3 separate regions of the Homo sapiens genome follow, and all the other regions are linked to region 2. Evidence: promoter capture Hi-C in 16 types of primary human blood cells and fetal thymus (Javierre and others, 2016). All regions are on one chromosome and are shown on one strand. Each heading gives the region's core, a stretch centred on a gene start or on the middle of the fragment in contact. The rest is flanking DNA. Distances are from core to core; before and after follow the strand shown. Region 1 has its middle 340 kb from the start of LINC01091. Region 2 holds the start of SPRY1 (sprouty RTK signaling antagonist 1). Region 3 overlaps LOC105377407 (a long non-coding RNA gene).

Region 1 (3,813 bases), core at 199-2,698, 600 kb before region 2:
TTAGAGAGGAGAAAACTGAGCCTTAGAATGGTTAAGTACTTGTTAAACTGTTCCTAGGACTGTATGACAGAAAACAATATGTCCTTAATGACTATATACTATTTTATGCATGTATATTGAAAGAGCTTTCCATGGACTCTAGAAATAAATATTTACACCTAGAAATAGGCCAAATTTTTGTATTATTACACATAAAAGTATTAAAAGCATCCAGCAGAGCTAGTTAATTGATTATAAAGTAAAAATATCAAGCTGTCTAAGACATCTTCTATAAAACACAAAATACTGACCAGGCACAGTGGCTCACACCTGTAATCCCAGCATTTTGGGAGGCCAAGGCAGGCGGATCACCTGAGGTTGGGAGTTCAAGACCAGCCTGACCAACATGGAGAAACCCAGTCTCTACTAAAAATACAAAATTTGCCGGGCATGGTGGCACATGCCTGTAATACCAGCTATTCGGGAGGCTGAGGCGGGAGAATTCCTTGGACCCAGTAGGTGGAGGTTGCGGTGAGCCAAGATCATGCCATTGCACTCCAGCCTGGGCAATAAGAGTGAAACTCCATCCCCCGCTCCCCCAAAAAAACCACACACACAATACTGAAAAACAGATGGATGGAGCAATGACTGCCTAGTCATAAAACATATAGCACAGGTGGTCTTTCAAAATATGAGGACCTAGAGATGAATAAAAATTAAGAACTGAAGGATGTGGATGACATAATTTAATTGAAAACAGTTAACCATACTGTTAAAACTAAACAACTGTAAATCTAGCTACAAAACTAAAGGCAAAGTTTTTAAAAAGTTGAAGAAAATACGTAATTCCAAATTTAATAGTTTAGTGTATTCATCTGAATTTAAAATAGTAATATTTTTCATGTTACATGAAAGAAAGTCTAACATTAATTTTTTACAACACAGGTTCCTCAAAGGTTATAGAGCGTGGTTAAAAATGCAAGCTAGAGAGAGATTTATTAAGCAAAGGCAAAGGTTATAATAGCAATTCAGACAAAAGTGATTTCAAGGTAAAAAAACTCATTAAAAAGAAAAAAGTTATCTAATATTGATAAGAAATAACAGCTATGAAACTTTATTAGCAGGATAATATTTTATAGAGACATACAAAGTCAAAACTGTTAAAACATGAATATATCTACTAATATTGTCATGGGAACTTTGACATATATTTAAATACTTTTATGACCTACATAGGCCCAAAATAAATGAAAATATAGATCTCTTTATAATCTAATTAAGATAGCTTAATAACAGATATGCATAGGATTTAGTACATTCCAAATTGAGTAAACTATTTACTGAGGTCCTATGGTATATTTACAAATGTTATTTTGTCATAAAAGATCTCAATTAATGCTTAAATGTTGAAAATATATATACTACATTTTCAAGTAATACTGAAAAAAATCAAAAAGTTAAACATAAAATATCCACAACAACAACATAAGAGCCAACATACATAGACTGGAAAATAGTCCCTAACTTACTTTTGTGTCAGTGAGGTACATAAAATTGCAGCTAAAGAACATTTACACACTCAGGTTAGAGTGCTACATATCAAACCTATGGGTTGCCCTGAAGCCATGGGCAGAGAAGAAATCATAACTGTAAATGTGTTGGCCATTAAAGAAGCCTTTGAGCAGGCAACTATAATCCTATTTTTGAACTGCTCTTACTCCCTCCTCCTACTTGACTAGGTCATTTTTCATCGTTATAACTAATTCCTTAGCATCGGTTAGATTTCTGCTCAAAAGTCATTTTCACAAGGAAGCCTGTCCTACTGAAATGTGATAGTTCCCTTGACCCCTGCAAAGGAGTTGACTCATGTACTCAGCTCAAAGCTCTCAACCTCTTGTGGGAGGGGGAGCATGCAGGTGAGCAGGTACAGAGGCCAGAATGAGCACTTCTGGCAGAAGAACTCTGTGCAGGCCCATGGCAGCATCTTGGGGTTGTCAGGGACCCCTGGAACCCCAGAGGGTATGTGTTAAAGTGTGTTCTTTTAGCTTTGCCATCCATGGATGGCTTAAGTGTTAACTCAGTGGAGGGTCACTGTGACAACCTCTTGAACCCACACTCAGGTCTTCATCTGGCATCCAGGATGAATCAGGTCATGCAAAGAAGTTGAAGGATGGTAAATGTGGAAGATTTTATTGAGTGGTGGAAGTGGCTCTCAGTGGGATGGGGAGCTGGAAAGGGGATGGAGTGAGAAGGTGGTCTTCCATGGATTTTGGCCATCCCTGGCCAAACTCTTCTCCAAGGTCCCACCATCAAGCCATCCCTCTGAATTCAACCTGCTTCTCTCCAATATCCAGCTGCTTCTTCTCTCCTTCTTGACTGTTCTGCCACTCTGCTGGTGGGGACTGGGGTTTTTATGGGTACAGGATCGGGGGTGAGGCGGGCCAGGGGTGGTTTTGGAAAAGGCAACTTTTGAGCAGGACAAAAAGAATGTACGTTCTCACTTTGGGCCATGAGTCCAGGCTTGACCATGTGGCCCTCGCCAGGGACCTCTCTCTTCTACACAGTATTTCCCTGCCTCCTGTCCATATCATTACCTCCCAGACCATATCAATTCCTAATTTTATATATTTTCATACTATTATTTGTAATATATTTTATTTATTTTGATTCCTGATATATTAAGTAAAAGTAGGTTGCTATTTAAAAAGGAGCAGGGAAAAAGGAATTGATGGAAATTAAAACTACACTTGCCAAGCCTTAAAAGTAAAAACAAGAGCTAGAAGATATCATTTGAGAAACTCCCTTCCAACAAAGACAAAAAGACAAGACAGAAACACAAACATAAGACAATTCAACTCAGAAGACCCAAAACCTAACAATTATGTCTCCCTCAAAGAGGGAAAAGAAAAAAATTGGGAAGAAGTGGCTTGACAGAAGAAAAAATATAATGAAATTTTCCAAAACTGAAAAGGATAACCAGTCTTACACTAAAACTTTTAGATGTTAACCTCTGAGGAAGGAAGCTTGAGTGAGGGGAAAATATTAGTTTTTACTTGTATCCTTTTATACAGTTTGATATTTTTAGTCCACAAACAGGATTAAATTTTAAAGTTGATTTTATATAAATTTGAAAACAATATGAATGGGAACATTAAAGATGAGATGAAGAATTATGTACACGTTTTCTTTTCTTTTTTCTTTTTACCTTTTATCTTTCCAAAGATAGTGCTTGGAAACGTCTGCCCTGTTCTCCTGCCTCCAATCCAAACCCTAGTTATTCCCCTGAGTTAGGAGAGTCCCCAGAGTGGCCACAGCAGGAAGGATCTGGAGGAAAGGGCTGGGACAAGGATGAGGCAAGTGGGGAACTCCCCTTGGATACAAAAGTTAAGTGGTGCCACAAATCTCAGTAAGTAGGATAAACAATATTTTAATGCAATATTTAAAAAAATCAAAATTAATGAAAAATCCATGATGAACAAAATAATAAAATTTTGAGATGAAGGAATGATCACCATTATTGAATATTATTGCCTCAGTTTCCAGGATGGTTCAGTACACTCCAGCTAATGCACATGAGCAAATTTCAGAATCCATTGTATTCGTTCCCCTTCTTGGGAGCAACCAAAGCAGACTTGAGGTGAGGATCAGAACAGAGTGTATCCTGCAAAAAGATGCTCTGAGGGGAACTATGTTCCTATGAAAAGAAGAGGGCATGCTGTTTCTCATGAGAGTTTTTTTTTTTTTAAAGAATCGGCCCTTATCTCTGCCTCCACAGATTCTTTCACTAGGGGTCTGGGTAGGTTGATTGAGGCCAGGAGAGTGCTAGCACTTGAA
Region 2 (3,578 bases), core at 799-3,298:
GTGAAGGGCTCTCCGAGAGGACAACCTGGGCCACCGCGCCGCCGCTCCGGGTAATCGGGGATGGAGGAGACCCTGTCCTGTTACGTTCCGCAGCCGCAGACCGTCGCCCACCCCGCCACCCAACCTTGAGCCCCCAGAAGCCGCGGCCCCCAGGGGGCAGGGAGCGGCGGGAGGGGCCGCGCCGAGCGAGGTCGTCCCTCCCCTCCCCTCCTCTCCCGGAGTCCTGGCTCGGGCAGCAGCGCCGCCGAGTCCGCACCTGCCGCGCCGAGCGAGCCCCGCCCGCGCGCCTACAGCCCAGCGGGCCGAGGGCGGCCGCCGCACACACTCACCTAGGCCGAAGCGGTGGCCGGGGGCCAAGCCGTGCGACCCGGCCCAGGTCCTGGTGCGGGCGGCGGCGTGCACGTGCCGCATCAACCGCGGCGGGGAGGGCGAGGCGGCATCGCCGGAGTTGGAGCGCCTCGGCTCGCGGCCTCCCCCGCCCCCGCCGCCACCGGCCAGGAGCGCTCCCCGCGGCCCCCTTCCGGCTGCGGAGGGCAGTTCTCCCGCGGCTCCGCGCGGCCGGGCCCGGACCTGTCACGGCTGGTGCTCGCCGGGCGGCTCAGTAACATCCACCTCGGGAGGTCTTCTGCAGCCCCTTTCCAAGAACCAGTTTTTACAAATCCTTTCAGGAAGGCTTCCCAAGTCTCAGAAAAACAAGTAGGGGAGTGGCGGAGTCGAGTGCGTGACGGGCCAGCTGACGGCACGGTGTGCTCAGAGAACTCGGGTTCTAGTCGCTCCTCGCAAGGAACGAAGGAAGGGATGGCGGCTTCCTGACGAGCGAAAAATCCACGTCACGGGCGTTCGAGACTCCGCAGCGCCCGGGTCGGGGCCCGAACCGCCGTCGGCGGGTGGGTCACGGAGCCGCGCAGTACCCCGGCGAAACCTCGGAGCACGCGCCTGCCAGGCAGAGGCTGCCGCGGCCGGGAGGGGGAGGGGGATTTTTTTACCCTTTTCTTTTTTTTTTTTTTTTTAGCGGGGAGGAGTGAAGAGAGTGAGGTTTGGGGATCCTTCTCGGAGAGAGAAAGGCGGGCGTCGTCCCTTGTGCCCCGCGCAGGCCGACGCGCTTAGCCGATTCCGCACGTTGGGCAAGTGGGGGCACAGCGTCCCCGGGCACTCCGGTCCCGGCAGGTCAGCCTCTCCCGGGCAGCGCTCACACCCAGTCCTCCGAGCCTGGGGTTCCACGGCCGAAATGCCTGCGACAGAGAATTAGAGATAGAAGCTCGTGAATGTCCCTTTCTTCGAAGGGCTGGGACCCCGGGCGGGCCGCTGGCCAGCTCGCCCGCAGCCCGTTGCCATGTGCTCCCTGTTGCTGCTCCCGGTGATTGACAGGCCGGCGCACAGTCGGCGTGTCAGCCGCGAACCAAAGTAACATGCAGTCCTGCACGTTTTTGCCGAGGTGCTTTTGCCCCCTGGAATGCCTAGGAGTTCAAACAACGTTCAAGCAACGCCTCTGCGCGTTAGGAATCAATACACAGAGACGGGAAATTCAGGTTTTAAACCAATGCTTCACTCGGGATTCGGTCGCCAACAATGCCTAAACAAACACGCATTTGGTCCACACACCGAGTGCTAGCCCCTCTTCGCATAAAGGCATTAACGGCTCTGTGTTTCACAAATTCGATCGTTTCAGACTTTAAACGTCTACTGTTCGGTTAAGGAAAGGTGAAAGGGACCCTGCTTTTTCTTTTAGCGGTAGCATTTACTTTAAGAGCATTAGTTTTAGCAGTGGGAATGCTACCGGTGTTTTGAAATGCAACCAGTAACCTTAGCTGGAAAGCAAGTTCAAATAAATAAATGTTCAGTTCCTTGCAAAAGTCAACATTTCTCACCTTATCTTTCCTAAAATGTCTACGGAAGGAAACGGTACTTACCTAATGCAAAGATTGCAAATTGCTTTTCAGGCACATTTAACAGCGACTGTAGCTGTTCCTTATCCAGGGCAGGGAACTGTGCTGATAATCACTCTGCAAAGCACGCAGTGGTTTGCAGAGCGGTCTCACTCCGGCTACGCAGAATTTCAGCTCCTTGCCTCCACCTCCACCTCCACTCCAGGACACGCCTCCGGTGATATCATGTGTCAATCACTCGGGCTGCCCGAAAACCTGGAACAGGATTTCCTTAACTATCGTTTCCTCTTTCGTTTATGTGTACCAACTTGGAAATGTTGCCCTACAGACTCGTGTAATAAACATCCTCTTAAAACTTCGGGAGTGCCTCTAAAAATTCTGCAAATGCAGTTTGTCATAGAGGAATACATTCGGATTTAGTTAGCAATCTTCAGTTGTCGATCTCAATTAAAAGGATTGGTGGACTCTACTCTTAAGTTGAATTAGAAAAGAATTGTGAAGAATAAAAGAAAATGAAAAAAGTTGTATGCCAAGCCATCACTTCTGACCAACTAGAGGGAAAACGTATATTGACACAAAAAGATGATTATATAACATTACAGTTCCTATTTACAACAAAGTTCAGAATATGTGAAACCTAAAGTTCAAAAGGTGGCACTCCTTACTGCAAATGTAATATAAGCATATGTAATAAAGGTGAAATTTTCTGCTGTGGGTTTTTTAAATAATTGCTTTACCTTGGCTTGTTATATGATTTCCCAAAAATCAAGCACATGGAGAAAAAACCAAATTCTTTCAATTTTGTAATATAGTTGTATAATTTTGCAAAAAATACAAACCCGTATATTTTTTAATTAGCTAAAAGTCAATTAATTAGAATAGAAAAAATTTATCAAGAAGTTTTATAATTCTTAGTAATAGCTGATATGACTGGAAAAAAAACACTTTAAGTAGGAAACTTGATTTCTACTTTCTTACAAACTATGGGATTTTAGGCATTTATTATCAAAGTTGTGCCTTTTCATGCTGCAGTGAGGATAACTTTTTGTGGAATTGAAGGTTCCGTAGAAACTTTTAAAAGCCACCTAAAGACCAAAAACTTAGTGGAAAGGAAATATTTTTCCAGGTACTATATATCAGGAGTAGCTTAAAGTCTGGCAAAACAAAGCAAACAATAACAAAACTCTAGAATCTAAATCATATAAACATATAAGTATGGAAATTTTTAGTTCAAAGTACATTTTTAGTCTCATTTACAATAGCAAGTGGTTCTGTTGAAACTATAAATATATACATACATAACACACACGCACACACACAGGACTTTCAAATGTCTGAGCACTTTCAAAAATTAAAGTTGTGTTTGGAATTGCCTCTGAAGAACACAGAGCATTGTTAAGAACATGAATAACAATAAAAAAGCATCATTAGAAAATAGCATAGAATAAGAATCAAGCCAAAAAGCTACATATTCACTCTTAATATTATGAATTGTATTAAAATAGGCTATTTAAAAGAATAAAATTGATTTCATTGTATTTTTTTCATAGATCTCATTAGATTTGGGGATGTAATGAAATTTTACTAGTGATGGATAGGTTTCTTGTGAATGTATTTGGAATAGACAAATCAAAAATAGACTATCCTATCAGAGTATCTTATTTGGTTCTTCAAAACTATTACCACAGTTGT
Region 3 (3,705 bases), core at 219-2,718, 710 kb before region 2:
AACAATACCGTACATGTGAACCCTTGCTGATATAATAAACTGCCAAAGCCATAGGGATTATTAAATTTTAAGTTGATCATCCCTCTGTATCTTCAGAATGGCTGCCGTAACAGTGATTTTTTTAAATTCTGTTTCCATTCTTGCTGCCCTAGTTCTAACACACATTTTTTTATTCCAATACCCTCTCTCTATATAAAAATATATGTATTATATATGAATAAATATTTATGTATTAGCATGAAAGGCAAAATATTAGGTATTGCTGTTAGCAGATATCAACTGAATCAACCTGGCAATATATTGGATAAGAGTAGCCGGAAGTCCTAGTTTGGGTCCTGCAGTAAACCCAACCTTCTCTTCGAGATATATATGAAAATTAATAGGGCTGACTTCACATAGTCACACTTCTAACTCAGATCTTGTGCTAAATTATTTTAGTTATGTCTTAAACTTTTTGGCAGCAAGAAATGGATTTTGGTCTTTCTCTCTTATACTTAGGCAAAAATCCCAACAAAATAACATAAACTTTGTAGGTCTTCCTGATGATTTAGAAAGGTAGAGGGTGTACATCACAACATGTAATTATCTTTAAATAATATTTTATATATTCCTTAAAAGTTTCCTTTTAAAATTCTTCCCACTCAAGCTTCAACTTCTCCATTTCTCACTCCTCCTTCCAGCAAACTTTAGGAATCATCACTAAGAGTCACAATTACCTGCCATTCTATTAGGTGAGCAATTCAGTTCTCACCAAAATCTCCAATTTCAACCCAACCTTTTCTTATCTCCAACCTTCCAAGATTCTCTGATGAACAACAGTGTCTTTTCCATTTTTCTTTCGCCAAAATAGTTCTAAAAATCTGAGCAAAGGATTCTACTATAATAGTGATGTAACCTGTATCTCAGGCTTTTTATTCTTACTGATCAAGGAACCATTGAAGATATTATGTAATAAAGTGTCTAAACCAATCAGAAATCGGAGAAAACGAAATGTGCTCTGGTGTAAACTGGCTGATAACAACAGAAACTACTGTGAGATGTATTTTTGTAAAATCCTGAACAATTATACAAAGTGCTGCAAGAGTTAGTATTACAGATATAGAAGCTAAAGCAGAGAGGAGGTTAAGTAATTTGCCCAGTATTATACAATCAGTGTTCGACAGAGGTTGGACTGGAACCCAGGCCCCTGACTTCAGAATCTACAGTCATAATCATTACGGGGATTTACATGCAAATGCTTACAGAGGCCAGCCAGGCAGCAATAGGTCTGTGAATTGGACTGGCCAAGTCTAGGGTCTAAGGTAGAGAGTTATTGGTATCTCTGACAACTCTAAAAGGGCTTGGCCAACTCACTGACAAATCATATTAGTAGTTGGAATACATTCGAGTGAGAACAAATCTCAAAATCTCACACTTAATCTATGTGGCTTATTTACAGATACAGAAACAAACCTCTCTTTTCCAAGTTTCCTAAAATATTTAGTCCCTCCTTTTACTTCTAAACTTGGTGAAGTTCTAAACTTCTTTGAAGACTCAGATACAAGGTTTCTGCAGGTTCTGAAGGTCCTAAGTTTCACCTGAATTATATCCTAGCTACTTTGAATGGCTATATTTTCTTCTTGAACTTTTTCTTTCCAGGAATTTGATTAAGGATATTTATACTTGTTTTTTCCCCATATGTCCCTTAACTTTTCTTTAAGTTTTCTATTTATTTATGCTTCCTTGTTTCTTTCTGGAATGTTTCCCAAACTAATCTTTAATTTTGTAATTCACTGATTATTTATTTATACTACCTAGTATATTCTTTATTTCATCTATTGTCTTCACACATAATCCTATTTGGATCTTCTTATGCTTTCTTATTCTTATTGTATATATTTAATAGCTTCCTTTTTTACTTATTATGCTTACTCTGTATTATTTGTTTCTTAGTTATATTTTCTCCACTTTCAGTGAAATACAATTTCAATTTGTAGTTTTGAAATAGTTGTACTCTTTAGGTCTTTTTCTTTGTCTCTTCTGGTGCTTATGAGCTAATATTCTCCTCCTTATGCCTTTCTAAATAGATTATACAATAACTTATTGTATATAAATATATAATTATACAATATACAATATAATACAATAAGTTATTGTATATCTGTTTAGAAAGGCATAAGGAGGAGAATATAAACTCATAAGCACCAGAAGAGACAGAAAAAAAGATCTAAAGAGTACAACTCTCCAGGAGTTATTGTATAATCTATTTAGAAAGGCATAAGGAGGAAGGAAAGTAGACGTTGAAGCTTCTGCTGGTTCAGCATTTTGGTAGAAATTGGGACTGAAACCTCCCTTGTACCCCTTCTACTCTATTTTCCAGATATGATAGAGACCATATGCTCTAACCACAAACCAAGAAATTCAGAAGTTAATAATAAAAAGATAAGTCAAATTATCTTATATTTGAAAATTAGAAAAAAATTTCCAAATAACTCAGGAGTTAGAAATAAATCAATATGAAAAATTCAAAAGACCTAGAGGTGTATAATAATGAAATACTACATGTCAAAATGTATAGGGCTGCATAAGACACCCGTTAAGGGAACATTATATTTTTAAATGCATACATCAGAAATTCAGAAAGGCTAAGAATTAATGAGCAAAGTATCTAACATTTAGAAAATAATAACCAAATATACCCAAATATAACAGAAGAAAAGAAACAATAAAAATAAAAGCATAAATGATAAAATAGAAAATATACATTAGAGTGATGAAAACACAATAGATGGATCAATAAAACCAAAAAGTGGTTGTTTAGAAAAATGACATCAAAATATGCAAATAGTTAACAAGACAATTAAAGACAAAAAGAAAGAAAGCACAAATATTATAAATGGAAAATATGACCAGACTACAGATGAGGCATAAATAAAATTAAAAGATAACAGGAAAATAGTCTCAAGAGACAACAATTTTGAAAATTTATTCAAAATGGACAAATACATTGAAAACTATAACTTACCGAACCAGAATCAAGAAGCAACTAAAAGCCTGAATAGTCCTGCTACTACTAAGGACTTGAAATAGTAGCAAAACAGAAACATTTCCCCAAATTAAACTTCAGGCACAGAGAGTTTTATTTTATTTTATTTAACTTTCAAAGAACAAATTATCCCTAACACATAAAAATTAAAAGTCCACACTCCTAGAATAAAAGTCATTGTTCTGTAGACATTTTAACAAGTCAATGTAAGAAATGTGGCTTTTAACATATTTTGCTGATCAATGACAACGCTTTTCAGTCAATCCGTGTCTAAAAACCAGCCAATCAGTGACAGCCCTACATTTTGAACATCAGCTAACCAGCAATAGACTCATTACAAACCATGCTTCTAAAACTAACATTAACCGAGTTCCACCTGTATGGTAAACAATGACAAACATACTTCAGTAAATAACAGAAAACATTTCAAAAACTAATAGCAACCCACTCCTGCCTCCATGGACAACATAAACCATTCTCTAGGAATGACAACAACCTACATCTGCTCCTATGCCCAACACAAAACAAAACAAACTATTTTTCTAAACTGTATATAAGATCAGAAGATTCTTTTCTCAGTCAAAACTAGACCAAGAATGAGTTCCATAGCCCTTCACTTGGTAGTATTCTGTGGCACCCTCAGACCAATAAGCATGCTATCCTTATACCTTGTGCTCAAA

The links. Contacts are between HindIII fragments. The CHiCAGO score rates a contact against its expected background, and 5 or more counts as called.
Region 1: a fragment that was not itself captured here is called in contact with the fragment with the promoter of SPRY1 in region 2 in 1 of 17 cell types (endothelial precursors); the score reaches 6.0 in endothelial precursors.
Region 3: a contact is called between a fragment that was not itself captured here and the fragment with the promoter of SPRY1 in region 2, in 2 of 17 cell types (endothelial precursors and megakaryocytes). The highest score is 10.0, in endothelial precursors.

What each region holds. Positions count from the first base shown.
Region 1 is chr4:123,990,656-123,994,468 of GRCh38, reverse strand. No RefSeq gene overlaps it. Among named protein-coding and RNA genes, the nearest start is that of LINC01091, 340 kb to the right of the region's middle. The HindIII fragment of the contact is 3,113 bases long and covers 1-3,004 here.
Region 2 is chr4:123,395,265-123,398,842 of GRCh38, reverse strand. SPRY1 (sprouty RTK signaling antagonist 1) reads right to left here and starts at 2,048. Exons shown (of 3, transcript NM_001258038.2): 1 at 1,911-2,048; 2 at 987-1,232. RefSeq lists a silencer at 64-613. The HindIII fragment of the contact is 9,971 bases long and covers 1-3,578 here.
Region 3 is chr4:124,106,578-124,110,282 of GRCh38, reverse strand. All of the region lies in intron 2 of LOC105377407 (a long non-coding RNA gene), which reads left to right. Among named protein-coding and RNA genes, the nearest start is that of LINC02516, 450 kb to the left of the region's middle. The HindIII fragment of the contact is 1,639 bases long and covers 649-2,287 here.